Regions from separate parts of the Homo sapiens genome. Here regions 1, 2 and 3 are each linked to region 4. The links are contacts of gene promoters, found by promoter capture Hi-C in blood cells and fetal thymus (Javierre and others, 2016). All regions are on one chromosome and are shown on one strand. Each heading gives the region's core, a stretch centred on a gene start or on the middle of the fragment in contact. The rest is flanking DNA. Distances are from core to core; before and after follow the strand shown. Region 1 has its middle 28 kb from the start of EIF4B. Region 2 has its middle 7.2 kb from the start of MIR9898. Region 3 has its middle 15 kb from the start of KRT8. Region 4 holds the start of KRT81 (keratin 81).

Evidence for each region. Contacts are between HindIII fragments. The CHiCAGO score rates a contact against its expected background, and 5 or more counts as called.
Region 1: a contact is called between a fragment that was not itself captured here and the fragment with the promoter of KRT81 in region 4, in 1 of 17 cell types (M0 macrophages). The highest score is 5.4, in M0 macrophages.
Region 2: a contact is called between a fragment that was not itself captured here and the fragment with the promoter of KRT81 in region 4, in 4 of 17 cell types (M2 macrophages, M1 macrophages, total CD4 T cells and 1 more). The highest score is 7.2, in M2 macrophages.
Region 3: a fragment that was not itself captured here is called in contact with the fragment with the promoter of KRT81 in region 4 in 2 of 17 cell types (M2 macrophages and M1 macrophages); the score reaches 6.0 in M2 macrophages.

The regions. Positions count from the first base shown.
Region 1 is chr12:52,976,498-52,979,930 of GRCh38, reverse strand. No RefSeq gene overlaps it. Among named protein-coding and RNA genes, the nearest start is that of EIF4B, 28 kb to the left of the region's middle. The HindIII fragment of the contact is 5,548 bases long and covers 1-3,433 here.
Region 2 is chr12:52,890,131-52,893,412 of GRCh38, reverse strand. No RefSeq gene overlaps it. Among named protein-coding and RNA genes, the nearest start is that of MIR9898, 7.2 kb to the left of the region's middle. The HindIII fragment of the contact is 2,470 bases long and covers 415-2,884 here.
Region 3 is chr12:52,918,067-52,921,514 of GRCh38, reverse strand. It overlaps a transcript of KRT8 not described here. Among named protein-coding and RNA genes, the nearest start is that of KRT8, 15 kb to the right of the region's middle. RefSeq lists enhancers at 2,475-2,974, 2,975-3,448. The HindIII fragment of the contact is 2,200 bases long and covers 219-2,418 here.
Region 4 is chr12:52,289,339-52,292,896 of GRCh38, reverse strand. It overlaps KRT81 (keratin 81), which reads left to right and starts at 1,363. Exons shown (of 9, transcript NM_002281.4): 1 at 1,363-1,800; 2 at 2,611-2,819. The coding sequence starts at 1,432. The region is part of intron 2 of KRT86 (keratin 86); the gene reads right to left. The HindIII fragment of the contact is 6,626 bases long and covers 771-3,558 here.

The DNA of each region.
Region 1 (3,433 bases), core at 223-2,722, 690 kb before region 4:
AGTGGCACCATCTTGGTTCACTGCACCCTCTGCCTCTTGGGTTCAAGTGATTCTCCTGCCTCAGCCTCCTGAGTAGCTGGGACTATGGGCACCTGCCACCATGCCCGGCTAATTTTTTTTTTTTTTTTGGTAGAGATGGGGTTTTGCCACATTGGCCAGGCTGGTTTTGAACTCCTGACCTCAGGTGATCCGCCCACTTTGGCTGGGATTACAGGTGTGAGCCACCAAGCCCGGCTGAGATTTATTTTTAAAGAAGACCATGTTGGCTGGTGTGTGGAGGAAGGCTGAGTGGTTACTGGTGGCCATGAGAAGACTTTCTGTTAGGAAGATGTTGCAGTGATAGTACAGAGGACAGATGCCTACAGCCTGGATGTGGGGTGTGGATGGGGAGAAAGGAATAGATTTGGACTTACTGTGGAAGTAGGGTTATTAATTTATTAGATCCATAGGGTAGACCAAGAGAGAAGGAGGTGTCAAATATGATTCCCAGGTTTCTGGCACAAGCAATTAGATGGATGGTGTGTCATTTACTAAGATGAACAAGAATTATGAAGCTGGTGGGAGCTAAGATCAATAATCCAGTTTTGAACAGGTTAAATTTGAGATGCCTAAGAGTCATCTAAAAAGAGGCATTAAGTAGAATATTCCATAGGCTGCTCTGGAGCTCACAAGAAAGGTCTGGTTGGACATCACAATCTGGAAGTCTTTGGTCTATAGAAGATGCAATTAAAACCAGGGCAAGGTATGAGATGACTCAAGAAAATAGTCCCTATTAATAAGAGAATAGGGGCCAGGACCCAGCCCTGAGGAACATCAACTTTATATCAGGTCAATTTATAGATCAGAAACATCAAGTTACAGACCATGTCAAGGAGGGTGAGTGGGGAAAAGGGACCGAGAAACTATAACTAGAGAAAAGCCTGGCACGAGGTGTCTGGGAGACTAGGAAGGAGAGTGTTTCAAGAAGGAGGGAGAGGCTGGGTGCTGTGGCTCATGCCTGTAATCCCAGCACTTTGGGAGGCCGAGGCAGGTGGATCACCTGAGGTCAGGAGTTCGAGACCAGCCTGGCTAACATGGTGAAACCCTGTCTCTACTAAAAATACAAAAAATTAGCCAGGTGTGGTGGCACACGCCTATAATCCCAGCTACTTGGAAGGCTGAGGCAAGAGAATCGCTTGAACCTGGGAGATGGAGGTTGCAGTGAGCCAAGATCATGCCACTGGACTCCAGCTTGGGCAACAAGAGTGAAACTCCATCTCAAAAAAAAAAAAAAAAAAAAAAGAAGGAGGGAGCATGCAGCTGCTGGAAGCTAAGTGGTCAAGGAACAAAAGGAATGTCAAGTGTCCATCGATTTCAACAACATGGAGGTCTCTGGGAACCTTGGCTAGTGCAGCTTCTGAGGAGCCATACGAGCTGAGCCAGCCTGGAGGGGCTGAAGAGTGAACTGGGTGAGGAAGGGGAAAGCCTGTGTGTAGACCTCTTTTGAGAATAATGTAAGGCCAGATGCAGTGACTCAAGCCTGTAACCCCAGCACTTTGGGAAGCCGAGGCAAGTGGATCACCTGAGGTCAGGAGTTTGAGACCAGCCTGACCAACATGATAAAACCCCATCTCCACTAAAAATACAAAATTAGCCAGGTGTGGTGGCGCATGCCTATAATCCCAGCTACTTGGGAGGCAGAGGCAGGAGAATCACTTGAACCCTGGAAGTGGAGGTTGCAGTGAGCCGAGATCGCGCCACTGCACTCCAGCCTGGGCAACAAGAGCAAAACTCTGTCTCAAACAACAACAACAACAACAACAACAACAACAACAAAACAACAACAAAACGAGAGAGAATGATGTAAGATGCTTAGCTATGAGAAGGAACAGAGAGCTGGCCAGGCGCAGTGGCTCACGCCTGTAATCCCAGCACTTTGGAAGGCTGAGGCGGGTGGATCACCTGAGGTCAGGAGTTCGAGACCAGCCTGGCCAATGTGGTGAAACACCATCTCTAGTAAAAATACAAAAATTAGCTGGGTGTGGTGGTGGGCACCTGTAATCCCAGCTACTCGTGAGGCTGAGGTAGGAGAATCACTTGAACCTGGGAGGCAGAGGCTGCAGTGAGCTGAGATCACACCATTGCACTCCTGCCTGGGTGACAGAGTGAGATTCCGTCTCAAAAAAAAAAAAAAAAAAAAAAGAGAGAAGGAACAGAGAGCTGCAAGGGAAGGTGGTCCAGGGAGCTTGTTTTCAGGTGGGCAACCCTGGAATTGTTGAGGGAGAGAAGAGAGAAGAGAGGGGGAGAAATCTCATGTGGGGGGGAGGGGAAAGGGTCAGCGGGTGGTATGAAGAGGGACTGGGTTCCAGACCTCTGCCCATGCTTTTTCCTCTACCTGTGATGCCCTTTCTGACCTCACTGCCTGCTCACCCTACAAGACAAGACTTTGTCTCTACCCACTCACAGCATGTTTAATAGCGGATCCTGGCTCTTACCATATGCTACTGAAGACAGAGACTATGACAGAAGTATAAGTCCCCCAGCACTGTGTCTGACACACATTTGGAGGACAGCCCGGGGCAGGGTGGGAGGTGAACGGTGAAGTGTCAGCACCCTGCCTGGACATTATGGTGGTGGAGTGAGGGCGATGTTTGAGGGGGTGAATGGCAGACTGACTGAGAGAATCTCAGCTGTTCCTCTCAGTGGCTCTTTCTAATACTTTTTAATTTTGTTTGTTTGTTTGTTTGTTTGTTTCCTGCAGGAGTGGAGCCCTGACAGTTCCCAGACCCTCTCACATACTCTCTCAAGGAATCCAGCTTAATGGATCAGCCCACTGTAGACAAAAAAACAGAAAACAGAAAATGGATCCAGAACCCAGACTCCCATCAGTCCCACCACATAGCCAGCAGGAGGTCAGGGGTGAGGGGGGCAGGCTGGGGTTTAGTGGGGGCCTGCATTCCTTTCTCTCTGCACGGCGGCAGGGCTTCTCAAGTATTCTCTAATTAAGATGAGAAGCAGAAGCAGGGGCTCTCTGGAATGTAAACAGCAGATAAGATCAGGCACCCTCCTCCCTGGGAAACTTCCATTTTCCTTCTTTTAGGATGGACACTGCATTCTTTCCCCGCTGCAGTCTTTGGCTCCCCAGTTCTTTCCATCCCCCCTCCCTCAGCCCTTGTCTCTGTCTTTGAGTCTCTGTCTGCATCCCTTATGGCTCCCTCATCTGGTACAGGGCTTGTGCATTGGAACCCAGAGGGGAACCTCTCATTTCATCAGTATATGGACATCTCCCAGGTTCAGGCTGGGAGTTTTTGACCCTTGCTATGGGCTTCTCTCTCCTGTCTCTTCTAGGAGGACAGAGCAGGCTCCATCATTGTACCAAGGCAATGTTCATTCAAATAAACAATGCCAGCCAACATGTGGGGCCAGGCACGCCAAGTACTAAAGGGACCATCTT
Region 2 (3,282 bases), core at 400-2,899, 600 kb before region 4:
CAAGAGGACCCTTCCCCAGTCAGCCAGTTTCTGTTCCAGAGGGCAATTAATGCTACCAGTTTCCTGTGATTCATTCCAAGTAGAAGTTATTATATATAGTTACATAGGGACATACATGCATACATTTCTATCTATCCTTCATGAAGGGTATTGTACTATATGTGTTGTCACATGCCTTGCTTTAACATTCACCCAATACCTGTTCCTTCCATATCAGTATACAAGTTGCTTCTCCACTCTTTTTCACAGCTGCATAATATTCCACTTTGGGATGTGCCACAATTTACTTAACCAGTCCTCTATTGGTATTTGCTATGACAATGGTGAGGATATCTTAATAATTCCTACAAGTGGAATTGCTGAAGCAAAATGTGTGCACATTTAAATTTTAGTAGACTTTTTGTTTTTAAAGCTTGATTTCCTATGGGACTGAATTTTAGTTTTTTAGAAAATTTACATGTGTAGAAGAAGGTTCCTGTTTGACTATTCCAGATGAGCCAGCCATTATCCCCCACTTCCCTCCACCCTGCCTTTCCCGACCCAACCACCCAGGATTAAAATGATGAGTCTTCCAAGCATTTGTGGACTCTTCTGAAGATATTTTAATTCCAAGGTTTTGCTCTGCCTGCCCGCTGATCTGGGCTAAGGTGGTCTAGGAGCTCCCCTGTAGTAGGGGGATCTGAAGGTGGGCTAAGGACCGAGGGCCAGGCTGACTGGAGTGTAAGGTGGTGGGAATGGAGGAGTGAATGTTAAAGCAAGGCATGTGACAATGCGGACAGTACATACCCTTCATGAAGGATAGATAGAAATGTGTGCATGCATGTCCCTACGTAATTATATATCATAGATTCTACCTGTTGGGAAAGGAAGAGGAAGCACCACTGCAAGGAAAGGAAGGCAGGGAAGGATACCAGCATGGTGGGTGGCCCCCTAGTTCACTCTCCGCGCTGCCCTTTTACACATTGTGGTGGGCATAGTTGCTTTGTCTAGCCAGGACCCCTTCCCCCTTCTTCTAGTAATGCAAAGCTCCCCCACCTCCACTCCTGCCACGCCCCACTTCTTTTCAGGAACTGTTCCTCCTAAGATCACAGGACCTCTGTCCAGGCACACAGGGTTCACAATGGGCCAGCCTTGGCCAATCACAAGTCCCTTTGTTTCCTCCTTGCTGAGGCATATTGTACATACAATAAAATGCAAAATGTGCTTTAATGGGGAATGTACAACCTGATGAGTTTTTTTATTTTTATTTTTATTTATTTTTTTTGAGATGGAGTTTCACTCTTGTTGCCCAGGCTGAAGTGCAATGGCACGATCTCGGCTCACTGCAACCTCCGCTGCCCAGGTTCAAGCGATTCTCCCGCCTCAGCCTCCTGAGTAGCTGGGACTACAGGCATGCGCCACCACGCCGGGCTAATTTTGTATTTTTAGTAGAGACGGGGTTTCTCCGTGTTGGTCAGGCAACTCCCGACCTCAGGTGATCCACCCGCCTCAGCCTCCCAAAGTGCTGGGATTACAGGCGTGAGCCACCGTGCCCGGCGCCTGATGAGTTTTAACTTATGTTCACACCTGTAATGTAGAACATTTCCTATATCACAGAAGGTTCACTTGGGCCCCTTGCCAGAGTGCACTTTTTTTTAGTAGACTTATTTTTTAAGAACAGTTTTAGCTAGGCGCTGTGGCTCATGCCTGTAATCCCAGCACTTTGGGAGGCTGAGGCGGGTGGATCACGAGGTCAGGAGATCGAGACCATCCTGGCTAACATGGTGAAACCCCGTCTCTACTAAAAAATACAAAAAAATTATCTGGGTGTGGTGGCAGGCGCCTGTAGTCCCAGCTACTCGAGAGGCTGAGGCAGGAGAATGGTGTGAACCCAGGAGGCAGAGCTTGCAGTGAACTGAGATCATGCCACTGCACTCCAGCCTGGGCGACAGAGAAAGACTCCGTCTCAAAAAAAAAAAAAAAAAAAAAAAAGAAAAAAAGAGCAATTTTAGGTTCATAGCAAAATCGAGCAGGAGGTAGAGGGTTCTCATACACATTCTGCCCCTACACCTGCATCCCACACCAGAGGGCTACATTTGTTACAACATCATCAACATCCCACCTCAGAGGGATACATTTGTTACGATTGATGAACCTACATTGACACATCATTATTACCCACAGTCCATAGTTCACATTAGAGTTAACTCTTAGTGTGGACATTCTGTGGGGGCCATGTAGCCACCATTACAGTACCATACAGAATAGTTCACTGCCCCCAAAATCAGAGTGCATTCTCAAAAATATGAATCAGATTCAGTTACTTCCTTATATGGAAAACCCTTTATTTTTATTTTATTTTTTTCTTTTCTTTCTTTATTTTTTATTATACTTTAAGTTCTAGGGTACATGTGCACAACATGCAGGTTTGTTACATATGTATACATGTGCCATGTTGGTGTGCTGCACCCGTTAACTCGTTAACTCTTCATTTACATTAGGTATATCTCCTAATGCTATCCCTCCCCTCTACCCCCACCCCACGACAGGCCCTGGTGTGTGATGTTCCCCACCCTGTGTCTAAGTGTTCTCATTGTTCAATTCCCACCTATGAGTGAGAACATGCGGTGTTTGGTTTTCTGCCCTTGCAATAGTTTGCTCAGAATGATGGGAAAACCCTTTACTTTTGACACCCAGAATAAAGCCCTAAATCTTGACTTGGCCCACAGGCTGTGCCTACTCTTCCTCCTCTGAGGCCTCATCCTGGCCACTCTGTCCCTTGCTCTCTGATGCAGTGGTGCAGGCTTTTCAGGGCATAGCCTACATGGAATTTGCTTCTGCTCAGGGCATTGCATGGCTGGCCCCCTGCTTGGAACACCCTGCCTTTCCTAGTCACTCCCAAGCTTTCCGCTCAAACGCAGCTTCCCCAAGAAAGTCTTCTGACACCACAAGACAAGACAAAAAGTTTTATGACACCACAAGACAAGAAAGTCTTCTAGACACCACAAACTGAGTGGCGTGTTTCTATGATAAGTTCCCAAGGCACCCTGTATTTTCTCCTTGTAAATTACAGTCACTCATTCATCTGCAGAGGTATTTTATTAATATCAGCCTTTCCCCATACACTGTAAGCTCCATGAGGGCAGGGACACACCATATCTGCTTGGTTCTCCACTGATTCTTCAGTGTTTAGCAGAGTGCCAGGCACATAGTAGGTGGTCAATAAAAATTATCAAATAAAAAGGAATGAACCATTTCCATATTGATAGCCATCTTTTTTATTTTTTTGAGACAAAGTCTCTC
Region 3 (3,448 bases), core at 69-2,568, 630 kb before region 4:
TAGGATAGGGTCAGGCCATGGGGGCCTGGGGGTGGAGGTTTAGTGTGGTGACATGTGGGAGCCATCGAAGCCATAGAACTGTGGGTCCAGGAGGAGGACTAGGGAGTTTGACTTTTGCAGCTGGACAATTGTGAGCAAGAAGTACTGGTCCTCTCCCTCAGAGAGGCTTTCCCTCCTTTGCCTTCCATGTTCTGGAGGCTGCTGTTGCTACTTAAGCTTCTCTTAATGTTCCCTGGATGGTCACCCAGGAAACTTGGGGAGGCAAGGAAGGAGAGAGAAGGTAGAATGTGGCCTTGGGGAATAGATGGCCTCTGCCTGGAGTTCTGTAGGGAATGCATAAACACACAATTAGTTGTGTTGCCATGGGAACTTGACTAACAGGTCCCTGAGGCTAAGCTGGCCTGGGCTGGCCTGGGCTTAGCCCATTCCCACCATCCAGGTCAACAGATTTTCCTAAAGGCCTATGAATGGGTCATTGTATCTGAGTTGGGGTTATCTTAGTCCTTAGAGACCAGGGAATGGGGTGGGGGCAGGTTGGTTACAGAGTGGTGGGTAGCAGGTCTTTTCTTTAGCTGAGCTGCGTGCTCTCTAGAGTCTCTCTGTCTCATTTTCTGTCTTACAGACATATATGCACACATGCAGGGTCTTGCTATGTCGCTGGTTGTCCAGGCTGGTCTTGAACTCCTGGCCTCAAGTGATCTTCCCTTGGCCTTCCAAAGTACTGGGATTACAGGTGTGAGCCACTGTGCCTGGCTGGGCACAGGCTTACCTGGCAGGCTGGTTCAGCCATTTGTGAATTCGTTCATCATATACTGGTGGAGTGCCTGTTAGATGTCTTTCTAATGCTGTGGATGTGACGGTCAACAACATAGTCAAGGTCTCTGCCCTCATGGGGCTGTCCATTTTTAATTTTTTTTCAGATGGAGTTTCGCTCTTGTTGCCCAGGCTGGAGTGCAATGGCACAATCTCAGCTCACCCCAACCTCTGCCCCCTGGGTTCAATCAATTCGCCTGCCTCAGCCTCTTAAGTAGCTGGGATTACAGGCATGTGCCACCATGCCTGGCTAATTTTGTATTTTTAGTAGAGATGGGGTTTCTCCATGTTGGTCAGGCTGGTCTCAAACTCTTGACCTCAGGTGATCTGCCTGCCTTGGCCTCCCAAAGTGCTGGGATTACAGGCGTGAGCCACCGTGCCTGGGCTGGGGCTGTCCATTTTGATGGGGAGAGGTCCCCCAAGTCTGCCAGAATCCCTACTGTAGGAGAGGTAGTACAGATGCTCAATAAATAAATGTAATATAGCTCTTTTGGATTGCTAAATAAAATAATAAACATGTTTTGAATCCTCCCTTTTGAGTTATTGACATTATTACATCTCTTAATGGACATAATTGGATCCTGACTATAAAACAGCATAATTGAAAAGAGAATGTTCAAGCTCTAAAATTACTCCAGACTTGGGTTCAATTCCTGTCTCTGTCACACTAACCAAAGGACCTTGGGCTTTAGTTTCCTTGTCTGTAAAATGAGAACAATGTTACCTTCCTCATGGATTAGTTTAGGATTATAAATAATAGGTGCGGTGGCTCACGCCTGTAATCCCAGCACCTTGGGAGGCCAAGGCAGGCAGATCCCCTGAGGTCAGGAGTTCAAGACTAGCCTGGCCTACATGGTGAAACCCTGTCTCACTAAAAATACTAAAATTATCCGGGCATGGTGGTGCAGGTCTTTAGTCCCAGCTACTTGGGAGGCTGAGGCAGGAGAATAGCTTGAGAACCCAGGAGGTGGAGGTTGCAGTGAGTCAAGATCGTGCCACTGCACTCCAGCCTGGGCAACAGAGCAAGACTCCATCTCAAAATAAAATAGACTAAAATAAAATAAAATAATATATAATATATGTAAGAGATCTGACACTTTGACACTTGGTAGGAACCCTGAAAATGAAAGCCATGGCTGGGCATGGTGGCTCACACCTGTAATCCCAGCACTTTGGGAGGCTGAGGCGAGCAGATCACTTGGGGCCAGCAGTTTGGGACCAGCCTGGTCAACATGGTGAAACCCTGTCTCTACTAAAAATACAAAAACTTAGCAGAGAGTGGTGGTACATGCCTGTAGTCCCAGCTACTTGGGAGGCTGAGACAGGAGAATTGCTTGAACCCGGGAAGCGAAGGTTGCAGTGAGCTGAGGTAGTGCCACTACATGCACTCCAGACTGGGTGACAGAGTGAGACTCTGTCTCAAAAACAAAAAAACAAAAAAGAAACCCATCATGATCACCATGGTTCCCAATCCTAATCACTACCACTGCCACCATCATTGGCAGGGAAAGGAGCCCTGGGTTGAGAGTTGGGGAAAGCAAGTGGGCGTCAGTAGGCAGGGCTCTGTTTGCATGGCTAGCTCCCTAGGAATTGGATTTGCAAGCTTCTGTTTTGCATAATGGCGGATTTTTACATGCTATTTCTTTATTACTATCCTATAAGCTCCTCCTTATAGACCCAATTGCCACCTCCTAGTTACCCTCCACCCTGCTGAGCTAGCACTTTCTTCCACTTGACCACCTACCCTGGGAAGAGGCAGCAGACACTGTTCTGTTCTGCAAGGAGGTTATTTCATGCAGGGAAACACAAGGCTTAAACTCTCACAAGGCAAATGTATCAAAGTGATGTGAACACAAGTTCCATGGGGGAGGGTGGTCTGAAGGTGGTGAGGGAATGGGGGAAATTGTGTGGAGAAAGGCTTTGGGAAAGGCTGGGGGACAAGCAGGGAGGGTTGGTGAGAGTCAAGCTAACATGTCTTGAAAACCTGCTATTTTAGGCACTGTTCCTTACCTGATGATCATGTCAGTCTTCTGAGGTAGTTGTTACTATCTGCATTTTCAGCTGGTGAAGTAACTCTTAACACCATTAGGAAGTGGCTGCGAAATTCTTCTGGTTGCACCCTCTGTCCTTTGGGTTTTGGTCACACATGGCTTTGGGGCAGCAGAACATGCATGGGCAGGCTCGGGGCAGCTGCACCTGCGCGGCGTCTGTCTGGCGGGGCTCAGATGCCAGTTCTTCCCTTCACAGCTGTGTGAATGTAGGCACTTTTCCATCTCGGCCTGGTGGGATCTTTATGAATTTAAATGAGGTGATGCATGCAGCGCATACAGTAGGCCTGCATGTTTCTGAGGCTCCAACAACCCAGCTGATACAGTAGAGGCCCCTTGACCTTCTGCCTGAACCCTCCTCATGAACTTCCCAGTTGACGCAGACTCTGTTTTGTTTCTTCTTCTTCTTCTTCTTCTTCTTCTTCTTCTTCTTCTTCTTCTTCTTCTTGTTCTTCTTCTTCTTCTTCTTCTTCCTCTTCCTCTTCTTCTTCTTCTTCCCCTTCTCCCTCTCCCTCTCCCCCTCCTTCTTCTTCCTCTTCTTCTTCTTCTTCTTCCTCTTCTTCTTCTCCTCCTCCTCCTCTTCTTCT
Region 4 (3,558 bases), core at 114-2,613:
CCAAAGTGCTGGGATTACAGGTATGAGCCACTGCGCCCAGCTGTGATTCAATTTAGCATCACCAATCTGACATTTTATGCTTCCTGGGGTGATATAATAAGAGTTACACAGCATATTTTATGAAGTATTCTGTCCCAACAATGTTTAATTTAAACCTAATCCAGCCTCTAGCCCAGTGCTGTCCAACAGAATTTTATGTGAAAATAAACAATAAATAAAATAAAAATAAATAATAAAGAAGTGTTCTTTATATGCACTGTCTAATAAGGTAGGCACTACTTACAGGTAGCTGCTGAGGACTCAAAATGTGGATAGTGCAACTGAATAACTAGATTTTTAACTTATTTAGTTTTTACTAACTTAAATTTAAGTAGCCACATCTGCCTATTGTCTACCAAATTGGACATCCCAGCTCAAGATTTACTTTCTAATTTATAGAAAATACAAGGGCTAGAGCCACAAATTAAATTATGTAAAATGTAGTTTTAAAATCCTTAGGACAGTTAGGAAAATTGAATCTGAGATGAATAGTAAGTGGTGCTTTGGAATTATTGTTAATTTTCCTGAATAAGAAAATAGTACTCTCCTTATTCTTAAGAAATTCCTGCTGATGTATTTAAGGGTGACATGCCATGCTTTCTGCCACTCAAATAATTGGGCAACTGTGAAAGCAAATATGGTATAATGTTAACTGTTGAATCGGGGTAAACAGGTGGAGCATCAATGCATGTGTGTTGTATTATTCCAATTTTCCTCAATATTTGAAAGCTTTCATCATAAAAAAGATAAAAGACAAATATTTAATAATCTGCTGACTGTTCCCATGGTAGGAAAAGTGAGATGGTTTTCAGCTGCCAACTGAAAAATCTGGAGATGGGGAAATCCAGATTTGTGTTTCAGGAGCACTTTAGCCACAGCTGTGATGGAAATGAGAGATGGTATTTATTAATGCCTCAGCCTTTCCTGAAACCCCTCTCCCCACATCACACTTAACACACAGGTCTCCTCCTCCCAGTTTCTCCCAGCACCTGGCCTCCCTTCTCTTCCCCTCGCCAGGCTCTACTCCTCCTTCTCGTCCTCTCCTCTGCCTTCCCCTTCCCTCCCCAATGCCTGCAGATGAAGGAATGCCCTGCTGGCAAGACACTTTGAAGATGAAACATGCTGACTCCCCCAGAGCCCAAGACTGACATCTTTTACAAAGAAGAGGGTGCAGGCCACTCCCCCATTAAAGCACATTCTGGAGAGGCGTTAGACCCGGCTAACCACCCAAGCCCATAAAGCGCAAATTGCCCCAACATCATCTTCACAGCCAAGCCCCTTCAGAATCTGCGCATAAATAGGGCTGCGGTGCCCTGAGGAGCACATTGGAGTTTCCATCAGGACTCCAGGTCCCCTATCCTGTCCTCTGCAACCCAAACGTCCAGGAGGATCATGACCTGCGGATCAGGATTTGGTGGGCGCGCCTTCAGCTGCATCTCGGCCTGCGGGCCGCGGCCCGGCCGCTGCTGCATCACCGCCGCCCCCTACCGTGGCATCTCCTGCTACCGCGGCCTCACCGGGGGCTTCGGCAGCCACAGCGTGTGCGGAGGCTTTCGGGCCGGCTCCTGCGGACGCAGCTTCGGCTACCGCTCCGGGGGCGTGTGCGGGCCCAGTCCCCCATGCATCACCACCGTGTCGGTCAACGAGAGCCTCCTCACGCCCCTCAACCTGGAGATCGACCCCAACGCGCAGTGCGTGAAGCAGGAGGAGAAGGAGCAGATCAAGTCCCTCAACAGCAGGTTCGCGGCCTTCATCGACAAGGTGGGTGTCCTGGATCACACCCTTCCTGAACCCCCACCACCTACACAGCCAGGGCCGGGCACTAAGGATGGAGTCAGAGGCACAAAGACCTCTGCCTGCCTGAGATCCCAGTCTGATGGGCGAGGCACACAGACACACAGACAGACAGACACATGCACAGACACACACACACAGGCACTCAAGATGCAGACTCAGCTGACAGTTCAGATAGAGGGAGCTTGTGAAGGAAAAGTGTGGCCAGGCTGCTCTGGGGCACAAGCTAGACATCAGGGAGTTGGGGGAGGGGGGCATGTGACCACTGCTGCTGAACTCAGAGGGGTTTGGGCAGCCCCAGGGTGAGAGAGTAGGGTGCACTGACTTCCAGATGACACAGGGGAAGGGCTGGGACAGCTGAGCTCCCTTCCAGATGGCCTGTGACACCCTCTTCCTGGCACCATCCCCAGAAACCTCATCTGTGATCTGAACCTGAGTACTCTGCCTGTGTGGGTTGCTGATCACCTAGTTTCATAGTGAGGGACTGAGCCTCCACTTCTGTTCATCTGCTTGGGTTGGGGGGGGGGGGTCACTCAACTCCCCAGGGAGCAGGCACTGACACCACCCAGCCCTTGCTCCACTCCTGAGTGGGAAATCTAGACACAGATCATGACCAGGAAATCCAGAAATTGTCTGTCTCCCACTGCCCACCTCTACTCAATCTCAGATAAGCTCCAGATTTGGGGGTTCCCATTAAAGCACCTCCCCTGCGAGCCCCCAGAGCTGGCTTTGGGGCACCAGACACCATCTGCCCCACCTTCCCACACCGAATGGCAGGTGCGCTTCCTGGAGCAGCAGAACAAACTGCTGGAGACAAAGCTGCAGTTCTACCAGAACCGCGAGTGTTGCCAGAGCAACCTGGAGCCCCTGTTTGAGGGCTACATCGAGACTCTGCGGCGGGAGGCCGAGTGCGTGGAGGCCGACAGCGGGAGGCTGGCCTCAGAGCTTAACCACGTGCAGGAGGTGCTGGAGGGCTACAAGAAGAAGTGAGTGCGGGCAAGAGGGATGCTGGGCACAGGAATGGGGTTTAGGTTAAATACACTGGATTAGACAATAAGAACTCCCAGGTAGGGTGAGTGGCCATGACCACTAGATTGACCGAGGGTGGCGGGGTCTTTTCCTTTGTGGAATCTTTGCCCAGACACCTGTGTAAGAGGAGGGCTGTGACTCCCATGACCTGTCTCTGTCCCACTTCAGCCTTCTCTCCCTGAACCACATCACCCAGCAGCTCTCCCCTGCGCTGGGTGGGGAGGAAGCCTCTGCAGGGTCCAGGCCTTCTCTCCTGACCCTCAGCCCCTATACTTGTAGCACCTGTCAGATGTGAGCCCAGGGTCTCTCATGAGTGACAGGTCTTGGGCTCTGGGTGTCCCACTGCCTTAGGTTCTAAGTCCTGAGGGTCTGCGGGTCCAGGAGGCCCCATACCTGAGCTGGGATTGATACCAGTGAGGGGAGGCTAGGGCTACAGGCCCTGAGAGTCCACGCTGTCCACTCCCAGGATGGGGCTGGGGGCTGAGTCCTATTTGCCTCCTGGGGGACCTCAGAGCCCCTTTGGGAACAGGACTGGGAGGTCCCAGATGAGCACTCTCCATCCCCAGTTCAAAGTGGATAGAGAATCCCAGACACATCCCACATCCAACTAGAAAGCACTAAGCTAGGCTGCCAGGCCGGGGCTGTGTGGAGGTGTTTCTAGTACTGTCCCCATGGCTGTGATGAAGTGTGATGTGA